Linked DNA regions of Homo sapiens: region 1 is linked to region 2. Evidence: promoter capture Hi-C in 16 types of primary human blood cells and fetal thymus (Javierre and others, 2016). All regions are on one chromosome and are shown on one strand. Each heading gives the region's core, a stretch centred on a gene start or on the middle of the fragment in contact. The rest is flanking DNA. Distances are from core to core; before and after follow the strand shown.

Evidence for each region. The method cuts DNA at HindIII sites, captures the fragments that hold promoters and counts their contacts. A CHiCAGO score of 5 or more calls a contact.
Region 1: a fragment that was not itself captured here is called in contact with the fragment with the promoter of OR52K2 in region 2 in 13 of 17 cell types (naive CD4 T cells, total CD8 T cells, naive CD8 T cells and 10 more); the score reaches 9.8 in naive CD4 T cells.

What each region holds. Positions count from the first base shown.
Region 1 is chr11:4,175,908-4,182,602 of GRCh38, forward strand. No RefSeq gene overlaps it. Among named protein-coding and RNA genes, the nearest start is that of LINC02749, 7.9 kb to the right of the region's middle. RefSeq lists enhancers at 2,833-3,360, 3,361-3,887. The HindIII fragment of the contact is 842 bases long and covers 1,624-2,465 here.
Region 2 is chr11:4,447,036-4,453,590 of GRCh38, forward strand. It overlaps OR52K2 (olfactory receptor family 52 subfamily K member 2), which reads left to right and starts at 2,260. Exons shown (of 1, transcript NM_001005172.2): 1 at 2,260-3,326. The coding sequence starts at 2,305. The coding sequence ends at 3,249. The HindIII fragment of the contact is 8,565 bases long and covers 1-4,238 here.

The sequences.
Region 1 (6,695 bases), core at 795-3,294, 270 kb before region 2:
TGTAGGACCCTCCGAGCCAGGTGTGGGATATAATCTGGTGGTGCGCCGTTTTTTAAGCCCGTCGGAAAAACGGAGTATTCGGGTGGGAGTGACCCGATTTTCCAGGTGCTGTCCGTCACCCCTTTCTTTGACTGGGAAAGGGAACTAACTCCCTGACCCCTTGCGCTTCCCAAGTGAGGCAATGCCTCACCCTGCTTCGGCTCGCGCACGGTGCGCGCACCCACTGACCTGCGCCCACTGTCTGGCACTCCCTAGTGAGATGAACCCGGTACCTCAGATGGAAATGCGGAAATCACCCGTCTTCTGCGTCGCTCACGCTGGGAGCTGTAGACGGGAGCTGTTCCTATTCGGCCATCTTGGCTCCTCCCCACTTTGCCCACTTTTAAATGAGGTTATTTGTTTTCTTACTGCTGAGCTGTTTGAATTCCTTGGATATTCTCGGGATATTAGTTCTTTGTTGGATGAATAATTTGTAAATATTTTATCCCAATCAGGAGGTCGTCTCTTCACTTTATTGATTGTTTCCTTCGCTGCACAGAAACTTTTTAGTTTAATATAGTCCCATTTGTCTAGTTTTGTTTTTGTTGCCTATGCTTTTGATGTCTTAGCCATAAAATCTTTGCCTACACCAAAGTCCTAAAGTGTTTCCCTGTGCTTTATGCTTTCTTCTATTGGTTTTATAATTTTGGGTGTTACGTTTAAGTCTTTAATCCATCCTGAGTTGATTTTTTGTATAGTGAGAAATAGGGTCTAGTTTCATTCTTTCACATATGGATATCCAACTTTCCCAGCACTGTTTATTCAAGAGACTGTCCTTCAATGTATATTCTTGGCACTTTTGTTGGAAATCATTGGCTGTAAACACATGCATGTATTTCTGGATTCTCTATTCTGTTTTATTGTTCTATGTGTCTGTTTTTATTCCAATAGCATGCTGCTTTGGTTAATATAGCTTTGTGATATATTCTGAAGTCAGCTAGTGTGAAACTTTCGGCTTTGTTGTTTTTGCTCAGGATTGCTTTGGCTATTTAGGCTCCTTTTTGGTTCCAGAATAGTTTTAGTGTTGTTTTTTCTATTTCTGTCAAAACTGACATTGGTATTTTGATAGTGATTGCCTTGAATCTGTGGTTTTTTTGGGCAGTGTGGTCATCTTTTTTTTTTTTTTTTTTTTTTTTTTTTAGATGGAGTCTCACTCCCGTTGCTCAGGCTGGAGTGCAGTGGCACAATCTTGGCTCACTGCAACCTCCACCTCTCAGGTTCAAGCGATTCTCCTTCCTCAGCCTCCTGAGTAGCTGGGATTACAGGTGTGTGCCACCATGCCTGGCTAACTTTGTATTTTTAATAGAGATGGGGTTTCACCATGTTGGCCAGGCTGGTCTTGAACTCCTGACCTCAGGTGATCCACCTGCCTCGGCTTCCCAAAGTGTTAGGATTACAGGTGTGAGCCACCGTGCCCGGCCAGTATAGTCATCTTAAGGACATCAATTATTTTGATTTAAGAACATAGGCTCTCTTTCCATTTGTTTGTGTCCTCTTTAATTTATTTCATCAGTGTTTTGTAGTTTTCCTTGTTTTTTGCCTCACGATTAAATTTATTCCTAGGTATTTTATTTTATTTTTAAAAGCTTGTTTTCTTTTTTAATTGGCATATAATAATAGTACATATTTATGGAATCCCAAGTTATGTTTTGATACATACAGTGTAGACTTTTTCTTCCACTAATTTTGGTTTTGGTTTTCTCTTGCTTTTCTCATTCCTTGAGGTGCATTGTTAGATTATTTGAATTCTTTCCACTTTTTTGATGTAGGCATTTATTGCTATAAACTACCATTTAGCACTGCTTTTGCTGTATCCCATAGATTTTGGTATGTTGTGTTTTGATTTTCATTTGTTTCAAGAAATTTTTTGATTTCCTTTTAAATTTCTTTTTTGATCCAATGGCCATTCAGGGACATGTTGTTTAATTTCCATATATTTGTGCAGTTTCCAACATTCCTCTTGTTATTAACTTCTGGTTTTATTTTATTGTGGTCTGAGAAGGTACTTCATATGATTTTGATATTTAAAAATTTGTGGAGACTTGTTTTGTGTGCTAACATATGGTTTATCCTGGAGCATGTTCCATATGCTGATGAGAAGAATGTGTGTTTTGTAGCTGTTGGATGAAATGTCCTGTAAATTTTTGTTAGGTATATTTGGTATAATGTGCAGTTTTAATTCAATGTTTCTTTGTTAATTTTCTGTCTAGATCAGGGGTGTCCAATTTCTTGGCTTCCCTAAGGCACATTGGAAAAAGAATTGTCTTGAGCCACACATAAAATACAGTAACACTAACGAATAGCTGATGAGCTTAAAATAAATTGCAAAAGCTCTCATTATGTTTTAAGAAAGTTTATGAATTTGTGTTGAGCTGCATTCAAAGCCATCCTGGGCTGCATGTGGCCTGCAGGCCATAGGTTGAACAAGCTTGGTCTAGATAATCTGTTTAATGCTGAGAGTGGGGTGTTGAAGTTCACAACTCTTATTGTACTGGAGTCTACTTCTTTCTTTACATCTAATAATATTTGCTTTATATATCTGGGTGCTCTGATGTTGGGTGCATATATGTTTAGAATTGTTATATTCTTTTGCCAAATTGATCCCTTTATCATTATATAATGATTGTCTTTATCTCTTTTTATTGTTTTTGACTTAAAGTCTGTCTTATCTCTTATATGTACAGCTATTCCTGCTTGCCTTTGGTTTTCATTTGCATGGACTTTTTTCATCCCTTTAGTTTAAATCTATATGTGTCTTTATACATAAGGTGAGTTTCTTTTAGGAAGCATATAGTTGGGTCATGTTTTTTAATTCATTTAGCCAGTCTTTGTCTTTTATTTGGAAAGTTTAATCTGTTTGTATTCAAGGTTATTATTGATACATGATTTTATTAAATAATTTCTGGTGGCTGCATTGGGCTTGGGAGGCCAGTCCCTAGGCACATAGTGCGTACGTATGTGTGGGTGTCAGCTGTGGTGGTAGAGGCAGGTTGGGTGGGCCTGATCTCAGGCCCTGGGAAAGTGTTTGGGTGCCAAAGGTGATGAACTGGGTTGGGTGATTCCCATACCCAAAGATGACATGCTTAGGCACTGGGAAGGAGGAGTGGAGCCAGGCCTGGCTCCTTAGGCCCCTTAGTAGTGTGTGTAGGCACTGGCTGTGTTAGGCAGAGGCAGGTGATCCCTAGGCTCCTGGTGGTATGTTGGGGTGGAGGTGTCACTGCCACCCTGCTACTGGGGAGCACAGGGTTGCTTTCAGTGGCAGCAGCAGTAGGCAGGGAGCTGGGGAGCATGCACTTTGCTTGTGCTTTGGCAGCAGTAGGCAGGGAGCTGGGGAGCATGCACTTTGCTTGTGCTTTGGCAGCAGTAGGCAGGGAGCTGGGGAGCATGCACTTTGCTTGTGCTTTGGCAGCAGTAGGCAGGGAGCTGGGGAGCATGCACTTTGCTTGTGCTTTGGCAGTGGCAGTGGCTGTGGGGCAGGGGAGTCTGTCCTCAGGGCTTGTGAAATGCATAGTAACTGCTGCTGGGGGCACTGGAATCCGTGCCAATGGCTTCTGTTTTGACCCTGGGATCATCCAGCAGCTGCAGAGGCTGTAGGTTGGGTAGCCTTTCCTCAGGCCATATGAAATGTACTGTCACCCCTCTGTTGGGGGTGGGGGGTGGAGTTGCAAGCTGATGCTCTCAGTCAACCCCTTCCTCTGCTAACCATTGGTTTGCAGGCTGCATAATCCACTCTAACTTTGGGCAGGACTTCTAAGAGCTTCTAATCTGTAACTCCTTTTTGTACACCAACCCCAACCACCCAGCCTTGGGAAACTGAGTGTACAAGGCCTCAGCCTGGGTACACCGAAAGGAAGCAGAGAGGAGAAGCGAGTCAAGAAGCTTGAGATCTGACACAGGTTCTGGCAAGTGCCCTTGGGCCAGGGACTCTTATTTCCTCTTCCATAGAAGGTAGATGTTGGACTGGTGGCTTCTCATGGCCTTTCCCTTCCTGCATCAAACTTGTGATGTTTCTAGTGAATTTTGTATGATTGTAGTTTGGGAAGCTCTTTCATGTTCCCCAATTGACTTGATTTTTCGAACACTTGGGAGGTAGGTGGTACCAACCCACTTTACAGATGAGGGAACTGAGCTTTGGAGTGAGCAATCTCATAGCCAGTTGGTAACAGAACCAGGTCTGGAGTTGGCCCCCTGACTCCTATCTCCTGAGTTCACCCTGATTGCTGGGAGCTGGAGGAGCTTTTGGCACTGGGGGCAGATTGTTTTCTCCAAATGAGGCAGGCATGGGACCAGGACAAGCCAGGTCTCCTCTCCTCTTGCCCACCCTACTCACTCAGGCTAATACCTCCTATCCTGCTGTATCTAGTCTTAAAAATGGGTCTCTGTCCCCTCAGGGGGATCCTCTGGCCTCTCCAACCTTAGCTGCTCTTCTAGGAAAGTGGGCCAAAGAAAATTTCTGGTTTGGTTTGCATGTGTCCCCCAAAGTTCATGTATTGGCAACTTAATCTCCAATGAAACAATGTTGAGAGGTGGGACCTTTAAGAGGTGATTATGTAATGAATGGATTACTCTGCCCTCATGAATGGATTAATGCCATTATCACAGGAATGGATTCCTGATACAATGATGAGTTTGGTCCCCTTTCCCTTCCTCTCTCATGCTCTCTTGTCCCTCCACTTCTGCTGCAGGATGACACAGCAAGAAGGCCCTCACCAGATGCTGAGCAGATGCCGGCACCATGCCTGTGGACTTCCCAGCCTCCAGAACTGTGAGCCAAATAAATTTCTTTATACATTTCCCAGTCTCAGGTATTCTGTTAGCGGCACAAAACAGTAAATACCTTCCATGAGGCGGCAGGCAAGTAGGCCCCTGGCCCAGATGAGGAGGCTTCCTTTTCTCAGTGGGGTAGCTCTCAAATCTCCCATGCAGGGTGGGGGCGAATTCCTCCAGACAAGCTTCAGGGCCTTGGCCTTGCCTCAGTTAGGGGAAGGGGCCTGATTAGAGGTCTTTCAGTGAGAGGTGATGAGCGGAGCCAGGCTGGCCCCTGACCCCTGCCTGTAGCCAGGTTGCCTCCCTGCACCAGGCACCTTCTCCTCCTTAGCAGACTCACCTGGGGATCCATTCTTTAAGCCCCAAAGGAGAAAAGTCAGGGCCCTGAGGAAGAGGGGCACCAACTGCCTGATTCTGAAGAGTCTGCCCTGATCTGCCTGAGCCTGGGGTCTGACTTTGGGAAGTTTGGGCATCAGGTCCCTGTTATGAGTTGTGGCTGGAGGGCTTCAGCCTCCTCTAGTCTCCTTCAGTTGGCCCCACCTCTGGCAGGCCAGGGGCTACAGGGAAGGAAGAGCCCATTTAATCAGCTCCTGCCCTGGCCAGGTCCCTCATTTGGGGTGTTATATGCCATATCTTGTTTAAACCTCGCAACCCCTTGCAAGGTAGCGAATATCAAGCCCATGTTACAGATGAAGAAACTGAGGCTCAGAGAGGTCGTCCTTAGTCAAGGCTCAGTACTAGTAAGTGGCAGGTTTGGGACTTGAAATAAAGCGTGGTTCTGTTCCCTACACTTTTTTTTCCTGTAAGATGCTTGGCCTGGGCACAGGTGGGTGGTAGTCCCTTGACCCCTGCAGGACTGTGACATGGGAAGGGACACTCTATTCTGAGTCCATGGGGGCAGGGATCATCAGGTTGAATGAATGCGTGACTGAATTAAAGCACTTGCTGTGCTGTTTAATTTTAAGAGAGAAGGGGCCTTACTGAGAATCCACTGGCCTGACAGTCTGAAGGCCTTGGCGTGGAGCCCACCCTCCATGGCCTTGCTGTGTGATCTTGGTCAGGGCCTGCCTCTTTATGGGTCTAATGTACAGGAAGGAGAGGTGGAAACTATTTGCTAGATGGGCCTTCAGGCTGGGCATCCTAGCCTTAAGAAACTAGGCTGCAGACCCAATGACCTCAGGCTGTAGGCAGTGGGAAATCTGGCAAGAGGCATGATACGGCTCCTGCGTGTGTGTTGTGTGGGAGGGGCAGACGAGAGGCCCTCAGGGTTCGGCGCCCCAGAAAGCCAGGAGGCCTCAGGCCCCTGGTGGACACAGAAGCAACCCAGCTGTATAACCCTAGCCCCTCTCCCACCCATACACAAATTATTGGGTTCCAGGGGCTTTTTGGTCTTTGAATGAAGCTTTTGGAGAAGTCTGTCCTTCTCTATCCATGACTAGGCTGGGGCCCTGCACAGGATCTGTGGACTGGTGGCTCTCTGGCCTCTCCTGGTTATGGGACTGGCCCAGCAGCTTCAGGCTGCTTGGTCTGGCCAGGTTCAGCCTGCACTGCCCAGAGCCACAAGGTGGCACCCAAGCACCACATGTGTCCAAGGCCACCCGGGCTCATGTCTTGCTGGAGGGACTGTGCCTGAGGAAGGTGCAGCCTGTGCCTGTGGGTAGGTAGTTTGAGGTACCTCATCCTCAGACATCACTGGTGCACCCCTCTGCCCCAGCCATAGGACTGTCTGTGGGGCCATGCTGGTGTCAGGGCCTGAGGCAGGAGACCTGGGATCTGGTTCTGGCCCTGTGTGGTCCTGGCAAGTTGCTTCCTGTCTTTGAGCCTCAGAGTGCTCTTCTGAAAAATGGGCATAAAAATAGCACTGACATCTTCGTTCATTGATTCACTCA
Region 2 (6,555 bases), core at 1,010-3,509:
AGAATGTGCATTCCATCCTAAGTACAATGGTAGCCCATGAAGGCTTTAGTGAAGGCCTTGCCTGATAGAACTTGCTTTCTTAAATGGCCTTTTTGGCTGCAGTACAGAGAATGAATTATTATAGAAGGTACAAGATTCCATACCACTGAGAAGAGTTAGAAGACTTTTGTAGTCCAGATGAAAGATGATGGTGACTTAAATAAGAGTGCTTGGCAAGGCACACAAAAAGAGTAGGGACTGGAACACATAGGTCGATCACACTTGCCTTTTGAAATTGGATATAAAGGATGAGGAAGGGGACTGAATCAAGGATTACACCCTGGGTTTCTGACCTAGCTATAGGATGGATGGTAATAATACATACTGAGATGGGCAAGTCATGGAGAGGAAAGAGTTTGTGGAGACAGATTTCTGTTTTGGCCCTATTTTGTTTGAGACTTTAAAGTGGAACTATCCAGTGGGAAGTAGGATATGCTAGTTGGGAACTCAGAGTAGAAGCTAGACAGTTGAGCATTCCCTGAATATTGATTTCTCTTGGCATTTTTACCACCTAAGAGAGCACCTAGAGAAGTATGAGAATAAAAGGGCAACAAAAAGAGGAGAGAAAAGAAGAGAGAGAGAGGGGAATACACAAGCAATGATAAGATCATATAAGGGGAGTAGAGGAGATGGGAGCTAGATTGGAAGGAATTAAAAATTAAGAGATGAGGAATTAGATAATGAATTACTCAACTTTTTCAACAAACATTGTTGTGAAGGAAAACAGTTGCGGGTGTTAGATGGAGGGAGATATAAGGCCAAGGAATGCGGGATTGTGCTGATGTCAAGAAAAACATTTTAAAAAAGGGGGCAGATTTGTGTGGGAGGGGGAATATTGTAATGACAAATAACAGTTTTACAATGCTTTACAGTTTACAGGGACTCTTCTCATGATTTTATCTTTCCTCATCATGAAGCAGTAAAATTGTCATGGAAGATATGGTTATGCCTTCATCTATAGGTGAGGAACCTAAATCTTTAAAAATTTCAGTGATTAATACTAGTTTCTATTGGTAGGCTGATGGCTCAATCATTACTTAAACCCAAGTCTTTAGATTCTAATTTTTTTTCCTATATCATGATAATGAGTTTGAGTTATATTTCTGTTAACTTGAATATGCTGGATTTATACTTCTTAGGAAGCAATGAGGTAGAAGCAGAAGAGTGTAGTGATTTAAGACATTGGATTGGGAGGCAGCAAACCAGAGTTCTCGAAGCTCAAGTTTCATCTTTGACGTTTTCCAACTGTTCTGATTGTTAGTGACTTAGTCTTTTGTTTTCTCAATTCATAAGTGTCCACGTTTACTGAGCACTGTTTCAAGATTTGTGCTAAGTGTTTTAAAAGATCTCAAAATCCCCAAAAGAAAGTTTTTAGGCAGGAGCTGAAAAAAAAGGTGGCACAGGTCAAAAATATTGCAAGGAAATGTTTAAACGTTTTCAAGGGAAATGACAACAGAAGGTGGAAAAAGATAGAATGATAAGGATCCCAGATGGAAAAATAGTGTGAAGGGAATAGGTCAGTCTTGCAAAAAGGTAAGTGTGGGGCATCTCTTCTTCTGAATGTCATGAAGTCCAGGAAGGAAGAAGCACGTAGAGATGAAGGTTAAACTACAGTTAGGCAAAAGAGAACAACAAAAGGGCTTCTCATGTTCTCAAGTTACCTGGAGGTAGGGCTTTAGTTGGAGGGATTTCTGAGTGTCAAACAAGGACCTACGAAACCCTGCTAGAAAAAAAATCTAAAGAACTTGTAGGGAAGTGAATTATTAGAAAGTGCTAACTACATTTATTTTTCATATGACCAAGATTGACATTTCAGGGCAGAAACTCTTTCATAATTGGGAGTGTAGTTTGAATTGGAAGGCAATAGGAAGACAGTGACGGTAAATGTTTGTGGGTATGATTTGAATTAAGCAGCAATCTGTATTATTTACAAAGTTGCTTTTGGCCACATGCAGGCCACAAAAGGCTCTTCCTCCACTTGATTTCTCAATAAGGCTGCTTTGTAATACTAGCTTTATTGGAATTAAATGTCCTGAGCACCCAGTGTTTTTATAAACAGCTTAAGGGCAAGGATCATGCATAATATTTCATGATACATATGATTATTTTCTCATTTCTTTTCATGTCTAAAAATGGGTCTAAGAACTAATCTTCTCACAAGAATGATCAGAGTTTGAATGTGAGCATTGTAATTCTGCTGATATTGAATATTCTCTGGAAGGGCCCTGTGGAAGCAGATAAGGAGGAAGAGAATTCCCAGGAGCCATGTCAGCCTCCAATATCACCTTAACACATCCAACTGCCTTCTTGTTGGTGGGGATTCCAGGCCTGGAACACCTGCACATCTGGATCTCCATCCCTTTCTGCTTAGCATATACACTGGCCCTGCTTGGAAACTGCACTCTCCTTCTCATCATCCAGGCTGATGCAGCCCTCCATGAACCCATGTACCTCTTTCTGGCCATGTTGGCAGCCATCGACCTGGTCCTTTCCTCCTCAGCACTGCCCAAAATGCTTGCCATATTCTGGTTCAGGGATCGGGAGATAAACTTCTTTGCCTGTCTGGCCCAGATGTTCTTCCTTCACTCCTTCTCCATCATGGAGTCAGCAGTGCTGCTGGCCATGGCCTTTGACCGCTATGTGGCTATCTGCAAGCCACTGCACTACACCAAGGTCCTGACTGGGTCCCTCATCACCAAGATTGGCATGGCTGCTGTGGCCCGGGCTGTGACACTAATGACTCCACTCCCCTTCCTGCTGAGATGTTTCCACTACTGCCGAGGCCCAGTGATCGCTCACTGCTACTGTGAACACATGGCTGTGGTGAGGCTGGCGTGTGGGGACACTAGCTTCAACAATATCTATGGCATCGCTGTGGCCATGTTTATTGTGGTGTTGGACCTGCTCCTTGTTATCCTGTCTTATATCTTTATTCTTCAGGCAGTTCTACTGCTTGCCTCTCAGGAGGCCCGCTACAAGGCATTTGGGACATGTGTCTCTCATATAGGTGCCATCTTAGCCTTCTACACAACTGTGGTCATCTCTTCAGTCATGCACCGTGTAGCCCGCCATGCTGCCCCTCATGTCCACATCCTCCTTGCCAATTTCTATCTGCTCTTCCCACCCATGGTCAATCCCATAATCTATGGTGTCAAGACCAAGCAAATCCGTGAGAGCATCTTGGGAGTATTCCCAAGAAAGGATATGTAGAGGGTGAGGTGGAGAAAGAATGGGTTGGCTTGTCTGCTGGAGTTGGAGACAGGCTATGGTAGAATGTGCACGGCTGCCAGGATCTTCATGTTTAGTTTTTTCTTGGAAAAAAAAAAAATGATGTCCTGAAACTCAGAGCCACCAGTCTGTTCAGGACTCATGGGTCTGTGTCCTCTGGTAGCCTGTGGATTGAATGTGCTGACTGTGCTGTCTTCTCACAGTGCCCTCACCCCTATCAGTAACTTGACAGAGACTTGACCCATGGGTCTCCAGGTGACTTCACCGAAAGACACAAAGATGCTTCCAACTTCATTTGCTGAAGAGAAGACTTTGAAAATCTGAGTTTCTTTTCTTAGTCATTGGGAATTTGGTGAACTATCTACTCAGGACCTGGGTGAGGGCCAACAGTATATCTGACATAGGAATCCTTCATTCATTCTGACTGGTGGTGTCCAGCTTCTGATGAAACACTCAGTGTTAGGAAGTTTGAAACATTCCAGGGCTGCAGGTTCTGAGTAAGACACCTATGCTTGCTAGAAAATCATTTTTTCACCTAAGCCAGTATGTGTATTCTTTTGCTTATATTTACCAATCCATCCTTATGTCCAATTCCTTTTATTAAGTACTTTGAATAAGACATGTCCTCTGGCTTTATGTTTCATGCAACTCTTTCTTTGCACATAGATGTATCTTATGTTTTCAAGAATGAGAATGGCTCATTTATTTACTAATTCCACCAAATCTGTGATAGGGGATGGGGACACATATACTAAATTAGGGGTGTCAGACTTGTGTATTTGTCCTAAGACAGAGAAGGAAATGATAATTATGATAGATTCTGTTCTCTGAAATTTCCATCCCAAGGCCCAGCATAATAAAAGAAGAGCAAGACCAAGCAGATAGGAGGCAAGAATATTATGTTTCTCTTTTCCTGTCTCATGTGAACTTACCTACTATATAATTCTCTATTAATCCTGACAACACAGCTAAGCTTTTCACACAAGCCCTGTATAAATACATTGTTCTGCTGTTATCTTCTGACCCACTTGTTTCCTCAGATATTATTGCTTAGAAATTATATATCTCTTTTGCTATCACTGTATCTTTCTCTATTTACCTGTCTATATTATTTAGCCTTGAAAGATAATTTCCAAGCCTATTTCAGGTGGGGTGTAGAAGGTTGGAAGCTGTCCAGGAGGGAAGAGTATAGCAAGAACCTAGAGTTTTACTTCCCCTTATATTCCACCTCTGCTCTTATAATTCCCTTTGACACAAAAACAAATACCCCAGAGAAATAATGTATTACATAAAAAATTGCTACATGCTAGATATATATATTTTTGGAGTATATGTGATATTCTGATATATTCATATAATAGATAATGATCAAATCAGGATAATTGGAATATCCATGACCTTAAATGTTTCTTTTATGCTAGGAACATTAAAATTATTCTCTTCTAGCTATTTTGATATATACAGTAGATTGTTTTCTATAGTCCCTACTGATTTCTTGAACACTACATCTTGTTATTTTTTATATCTAGCTGTATTTTTATACTCAATTAATCTCTTATCCTCCCTGCCTCCCTTCCCAGCCCCCAATAACCACCAATCTGCTCTCTATTTTCATGAGCTGTACTTAGCATCCACATGAGTGAGAAATACAATAATTGTCTTTCTGTACCTGGCTTGTTTCACTTAACTTAATGACCTACAGTTTCATCCACGTTGCTGCAAGTGACAGGATTTCATTCTTTCTTATGACTAATATTCCATGTGTATCATATTTTTCTTTATCCATTCAGATATTAATAGCACTTACATTGATTCCATGTTTTGGCTATTGTGTCTAGTACTAAATATAGGAATACAGATATCTCTTTGACATATTGATTCCTTTCTTTTGAATAAATACCTAGTAGTGGGATTACTAAATCTCATGGTAGTTATATTTTTAGTATTTTGAGGAACTTCCATACTGTTTTTCAGAGTGGTTGTATTAATTTGCATTCCCTCCAGAATTGTTGAGGACTAGATATGCTAATGGCAGCACAAGGAAGACTTTGTTCAGCCTTAGATGAAAAGTATTGCTTTTGGGTAAACCAACTGTGAAAAGTACAGGACAACATCACACGACTTCCAAATCAAGCCTCCATTTATTATGGGAACTTGCCTCTCAGGGTTGGTTAGATAGGGAAGGAGCCTGGAAATGGTTCTCCTGGGTTCTTTCCTTTTTAGGACCACTTGTTATTCTCCTAGTTTTGCACCTTTTTGGTTCAGGTCTTCTAAATTCTAAACCCAATTTGTCTCCTCTCACCCCCAGGCCATCAAGCTCCAGATGGTCCTCCGTGAGGTATACTGTCCTCTCAATATTCAAGAGGTACCCTTCTACAGGGAACCGCTAGACTGCTCATCAGTGGACAGAAAGTAGGCAAAATTCTGCCCCTGGACCTGGCTGGATACCACTTTTGCTAAGCCACTGAGTCACCCTCCTGCCCTGACAGCAAGAGGCCAAGACCCACAGAACCACCACCACCACCCCTCTGTCAGCAGAAAGCAGTTACAAAAGACTGACCTTCATCCATTTTCCTCCAAAGATTTGGGGTCTTGGGCTCTTGAGTGGGGGGAAACATTACAGGTAGTTAGACAGGCATGAGTGGGGCAGGAGGGGGCCCTACCACCTACCCACCAGGAATGTCTGACTATAGTCAAGTGATGGTTGGGCAGTTACCACACTGCCCCTCTAAAAATGATAACTTGGCCATCAGTGCCAGGGAGAGACAATCTCCCGATGGTCCAAGCTGCCACACTAAAGTGTTAATTGAATTCAGGTACCTAAGAGAGGCAACTTCCCAAACAGATGAAAATACTTGAGATTGGTAATCAGTTTCCAGTAAAATCACAGGAAATGAGCAAGTGAGCCTGGGCATGTTCATTAAAAAACAAAGTGGTGGAGTATGACCTTCCAGAGGCATTCTGTCAGAAAACTGAAGAAAGCCTCAGATGGGCATGCGTACAACTTCTTAAACACACTGCGCATGCTCACTTCCTAAGGGTAAGGAGGGCACTGTGCATTCAGGCAGCCCACCCTAAGGGAAGAATCATGGGAAAGGGGTGCAAGACCCTGGAAGTGGGCCATCTTATAAAGTCCCAGGATCAAGATTAAGTGGGGCACTTGTCCTTCAAGTCGCCTGCTTGGGTCTCTTCCAAGTGTACTTTCCTTTCTTTCCTGCTCTAAGGCTATTTTTTTTTTTTTTTTTTTTTTTTTTTTTTTTTTTTTTTGAGATGGAGTCTCTCTCTGTA